Regions from separate parts of the Homo sapiens genome. Here region 2 is linked to region 1. The links are contacts of gene promoters, found by promoter capture Hi-C in blood cells and fetal thymus (Javierre and others, 2016). All regions are on one chromosome and are shown on one strand. The core of a region is centred on a gene start or on the middle of the fragment in contact, and the rest is flanking DNA. Distances in the headings are between cores, read along the strand shown.

The links. The method cuts DNA at HindIII sites, captures the fragments that hold promoters and counts their contacts. A CHiCAGO score of 5 or more calls a contact.
Region 2: the fragment with the promoter of EGFLAM-AS2 here is called in contact with a fragment that was not itself captured in region 1 in 3 of 17 cell types (M1 macrophages, M2 macrophages and M0 macrophages); the score reaches 6.3 in M1 macrophages.

What each region holds. Positions count from the first base shown.
Region 1 is chr5:38,763,979-38,766,862 of GRCh38, reverse strand. All of the region lies in intron 2 of OSMR-DT (OSMR divergent transcript), which reads left to right. It also overlaps the pseudogene LOC100132789. Among named protein-coding and RNA genes, the nearest start is that of LINC01265, 45 kb to the right of the region's middle. RefSeq lists a silencer at 1,242-1,536. The HindIII fragment of the contact is 701 bases long and covers 1,113-1,813 here.
Region 2 is chr5:38,401,756-38,404,779 of GRCh38, reverse strand. EGFLAM-AS2 (EGFLAM antisense RNA 2) reads left to right here and starts at 1,309. Exons shown (of 3, transcript NR_102750.1): 1 at 1,309-1,381; 2 at 2,699-2,956. All of the region lies in intron 6 of EGFLAM (EGF like, fibronectin type III and laminin G domains), which reads right to left. The HindIII fragment of the contact is 8,755 bases long and covers 1-3,024 here.

The DNA.
Region 1 (2,884 bases), core at 214-2,713:
TTCTTCTCTTGGCTTCTGTGATATAGAATTCTCCTGGGTTTCTACCTACCCTTTTGTGGTTTTTCTTCCTCTGCCTTTTCCTAAAATGATGATGTTCCTTGTACTTATGCCCCAGGCCCACTTTCTTTCTCATCCTATGTGCTTTTTCTAGGTCATCTCACATGTGTCCAATTATGATCTATTAGCTGTCAACTCCCAAGTCTGCATCTGCAGTACATATGACTCTCCTAAATTGTAAACCTATGTAGCCAACTCCCTACTAAAATTGTGTGTCCCCAAAACAAAGCAGATTCAACATGTTTGGTATGAATCCATCCTATTTTCCCTTAAAACGTTACTTTTCTCTGTTTTCATTATCCATCCAGCAATCCAACCAGAATCTTGAAATATCAGAGGATTCTAATTTTTATCTGGCGGCTGGCTTCCAAGAGGCAGGAAGCAAAAGTTGCCAGATCAGTTAAGAGCTATGTCTGTAACTGGTGCATCATCACTTCTGCTGAATTAAGTTGCTCAAACTTAATCAAAAGATTGACCCAGATTCAGGTTACCAAGAGTAGAGAAACTGACTATCTCAGGATGGGTGAGTATCAAGTCCATATTGTGAAAGAGTGTGTGGAATGGGAAATGTCATTGTAAGCATCTTTGTGAAGTGCAATCTGCAACAACATCACAATCAGAAATCAAATTCAGACTCAACTAACTCCCAAGTCAAAACATTTAATCATTGTTATACTGCTTCACATATTCAGAAAAGCACTTTCCTCACTTCTAGAAAATAGCTGAAATTAAGAAATTTTGGTGCTTCTGAATTATTAGTTAATTGTTTATTCACTTATTCATCCAATATCTTCAGATACTATAGGTAGCCAGCATCTACAACAAGCCCAGGCATTGTTTGAGTGCACACAATAGTGAATAGAATAGACAAATCATTGGTCTCCTGGAGTGTAGAGTTCATTCTTCCACCATTGCATAAATAGTTTCATTTTAAATGATGGAATCAGAATCAGTTGTTATTAATGGCAAGCAATGGTCAGTTTTTGACCCTAAGGAATGTTGGAATGAAGCTCTTCAGAGAAGCGGAGGTCTGCACAGAGTTTAAAACTTAAGCTTGGCCCACAGTGCATAGCATTGTAAAATATTTAGAGTTCTTGGTGGCATGTATACAAGGAAGAATGTAAATTTTAAATATTTGCAGTTGATAAGTATAATTTATTATATGATAGTACTTGACACATACCAGCTTACCAAGAAAAATGCTTGAACGTTGCATTCAAGCAAATTAATTTTACATCCTGTCCTGGGGTCAAACTGTGGCTCTGGCTGACTGGCCAACAGTTGGTAGGCCAACTGCCAAAACAATCAGTGGGATCACTGTGCAATCCGATCCCCTCATTAAGACAACTGAGACGCTAACAACCAAATCCAATGGACTCTATAGCAATCGAATCAATTGCCCCACAATCAGATAGAACAGCTCTCCAATCAAATTAATTTAATTGTATTTGGTTTAGTTAAGTGACATGGTGCCTGTTCTCTCCTCATACATAGCATGACATAACGCTAGCTTTTGAAGGGATCCTGAAGAACAACTAGTTCTATGCTTCTCAAATTGGGAAAAAACTATGGGCAGTGTACACAGTCACCAGATAAATGTGGTGTGTCTTTCTGGATTGCTAAATTATCTTAAAATTTGATGGGAAGGGGGAGGATACGTTTATATATGTAAACAAGTACACATATATCATGGATTATGTATACTCTGACAACACTAACAAAAATTTCAATCTCAGTGATTTAAAACAGCAAAGCTTATTTCTTGTTTATGCTACACATCCGTCAGGGTCAGCTGGGGGCTGAGTTCCTAGCATTCTTCATTCCATGATTCAGATGAACAGAGAAGCCTTTATCTAGACCTCTACGTATTGCCTTAGTGGAAGAAAAGACTACAGTAGGCCGGGCGCGGTGGCTCACACCTGTAATCCCAGCACTTTGGGAGGCCGAGGTGGGCAGATCATGAGGTCAGGAGATCGAGACCATCCTGGCTAACAGGGTGAAACCCCATCTCTACTAAAAAAAAGTACAAAAAATTAGCCAGGCGTGGTGGCGGCCACCTGTAGTCCCAGCTACATGGGAGACTGAGGCAGGAGAATAGCGTGAACTCGGGAAGTGGAGTTTGCAGTGAACCGAGATTGCGCCACTGCACTCTGGCCTGGGGGACAGAGTGATACTCTGTCCCCCACTAAAAAAAAAAAGACAACAGTAAATCCAGAGGAAATAATGAGCTAGATCTTAATACTCCCACCTGGGAGTAGAATATGTCACTTCCACACACACACTTCATTGGTCAAATCATGTCACGTTTGACCCAGCTATTTTCAAAGCGGGGCAGGGAAGGGCAATCCTACCATGTGTCCAGAAGAACTAGAAATATTTGGTAAACAGTAGAGTCACCTGTCAGCCAAAGATGGCTGCACTCAGGTGAGTTGAACAAAAGTTGTAGTGAGCCCTGGCATGTCTGAGGAAGACCTGGACAGGCACTGGAACCTGGAGGAAGGAGAATATAAGGCTCAAGATGGAAAATCAGGAGCCAGATAGCACTTTCAAGGAAAACGTAATTTTAGGCATCATAACTAGAAAAATTAACCAGCTTCCAGAAGCAGAAAGGAAACTACTTGAACATGGATCAATATATGTTGAACTTAATGCTGTTCTCCGTGGCCTAATAGCAAACAGTCTTTTTCTATGCATCTTGAACATGACACAGGCTCATATAGCTGTCGGCTCACCAATGGCAGAGAACCCATTTCTGATAGTACATGTATTTTACAGAAGTTTTGTAAATTTACCTTTGAATTGAGGTCATTGGAATTTGAAACCCATA
Region 2 (3,024 bases), core at 60-2,559, 360 kb after region 1:
CTCAACTGAAAAAGCCAGGCACCAGCCTTTAGGGCAGTAACAACTTTGGCAACAGAAACTGGCTTTGGTAGGATGCTGCCACTCATTAGTTATTAGACATCCAGTGTTTGGATGCCTAGTGGAAAAGAAAAAGGAAAAATAACATAAAAAGCATAAAAAACATAAACTAAACTTAAAGACATTTTGCTTTCAGAATAAGCTAAGTCATGCACCATTCTCAGGAAGACAAACTCACCCTCCTACATTGTCTGTCCAGGCTGCTACAACAAAAGTACCATAAACTGATGGCTTGTAAACCACAAACATTTATTTTTCACAGTTCTGCAGGCTGTGAAGTCCCAGATCAAAGGGCTGGCAGTATCTGATGAGGGCACAGATGGTGCCTTCTCACTGCATCTTCACATGGTGGAAAGGGCAAACCAGCCCCTTTGGGCCTCTTTAATAAGGGCACTGATCCCATTCACAAGGACTCCACCCTTATGATCTAAGTACCTCCCAAAGGCCCCTCCTTGGGGGTTAGGATTTCAACATATGAATTTGAGGGAGACATAAACATTCCGACCATAGCACTCCTCCAAACAGAATAGCAATCAGATTGAAAATGGAGTGGAAGGAAATGGCAGAAAGTCATTTTTGTCAGGGGGCGTGCTGTTGACCAGAAATCAATCTCCTCCCAGACCAGACGAGAGAAGTGCAGTCAGCAGATGATGCAGATGACCCAGAGACAGGGTGGAGTGAGCTGTTCTCAGGGGTTCGGGCACTTCTTGGTGGAGGTGGGATAACAAAGGGGAGGCGGTGTTCTCATCCCTTCCACACCAATTCCCCAGTTTTATTTAAAGTAGTCCACCTGTCAACTGAAAATTCAACCTGTCGATGCCAGATTTATACCTGGATGCATGTTCTCTCAAGCCACCTGCATGCAGCGTATCTGTGTGCCAGATGTCTTCACACAAAAGGCCCTTGAGGACAGCTCCTTCCTCTTGTCTCTATCTTTGTACAGCAAGCAGTCCCCCTTATCTGTATTTTTGCTTTCTGCAATTTCATTTACCCTCGATCAACCACAGTCCAAAAATATTAAATGGGAAATTCCAGAAATAAACAATTCATAAGTTCTGAGTAGCACGATGAAATAGCACACTGCCCTGCTCCATCCTGCCTGGGATATGAATCATCCCTCTGTCTGGCATATCCGTGCTCCATATGCTCCCTGCCCCATGGTCTGCAGCCGTCTCAGTTGTCAGATTCACTGTCATGGTATCGAAGTGCTTATGTTCCAGTAACCATTATCTGACTTCATAATGGCCCCACAGTGCAAGAGCAGTGATTCTGGGATTCAGATATGCCAAAGAGAAGCCATGAAGTGCATCTTTTAAATTAAAAGGTGAAAGTTCTCAACTGAATTAAGGAAAGAAAAAAATCATATGCTGAGGTTGCTAAGATCTATGGCAAGAATGAATCTTCTATCTGTGAAACTGTGAAGAAGGAAAATGAAATTTATGCTAGTTCTGCTGCATATATAGGGTTCAGTATTATCTGCAGTTTCAGGTATCCACTGGGAATCTTGGAACACATCCCCTGCGGAGAGGGAACTACTGTATCTATCTCTCTCGGCCCCTCTCTCTCTTTCTCTTTCTCCCCTCTGTCCTTTCCCTCACTCTTCATTTCTATCTCTGCCTCTCTCACATATTCAGAATTGTTAGATTCCAGAAGAAGAAATCCATTTGGTAGTAAAAGAATTATACAGCACATACATAAAGCAAGCTGGCTTTTGTCTTCAGTAGTTTGGTCTCTCTCCTTCCAGGCTGTTCTTCCTTGCCCTGTGCACCTTATTAACACATTCTCAACAAGGTTAAGATTCTCTTCATCTTTATCCTATGATTTCCTATCTGAAAAATCACCTTCAGTGACTCTCCACTGCCTACAACATAAATTCTAGGCTTCTTGGTCAAGAATTCAAGGTTCTCAATTAAAACAGCTCCTTTTTTCCTCCTTCTTCCCCCATCACCATGATTTATTGAATTCTACTCCATCTCCTCTTCTTATCAGGTACTATTGGGTGCTTAACATGATATATTTCTAAACTTTTCAATAATCTTACAAGGTAAGTATGACTAATCCATTTTATACATAAGAAAACTGAGTTAAGAGTAGTTAAGTAATTTACCTAAAATTGAAGACTTTATAACTGGCTGAGCTAAACTCAAATCCAAGGTCTGTCTGGTGACTGCTCTCCTAATCGCCTATTGCAGAAGAAGCCACTGTGGAGGTAGAAAGATCCTAGAATTTGAGAAAATTACCATATGTTGATCATTCTTAGTGTGCCAGGAGCTTTTCATACATCGCTTAAGTTAATCCTCACAAAATACTATAAAATTGGTGTTATTACTTCCATTTTACCAAGTGGAGATATAGACACAGAGAGATTAAATAACTTGCTCAAGGCAGACAGATGGGGAATGGCAGGGCTAGATTTTATCCTTGGTCTCTCTTTTGACTACATCATGCTACTTAATCTGAATCCTAATTATGTTTTCAGGTTTTTGTTGTTTTTTAAAAAATACTCTTTAAAAGCTATATAATAGCCAAACTGGCCTGCCAGTTGTCTCCTGAATGCATCTTGTATTTTCTTACCCTAGGATTTTGGTTAATGCTTTTTCCCATTGTCATCTTTTTCCCACTCCTATCTCCTTACACACAGCCTACCTATTCTCCCAGAGGGCATGCATTCTATGGAGACAGAGCTGAATGTGTGCCATCAGAAGACCAAAATCAAGCGACATTTTAAAAAGAAAACAGACTCTTCTGGGAAAAATGGTGACTCCACAAAGTAAGAAGCCACCAAGACTTGTAGGACATTCCTTCATCTTCTCCTGGATGGGGCAACCCAGCCATGGATATATGCCTCCAATCAGCATAAATGCCCATTGCTTGATAAAGTCAACACACGTGTAAGATGGTATGTAGATCTTCTGGGCTCCTGGCCTTAGACTCTTGCCCTTGTGTTTACCAACTCGATTGTAAATC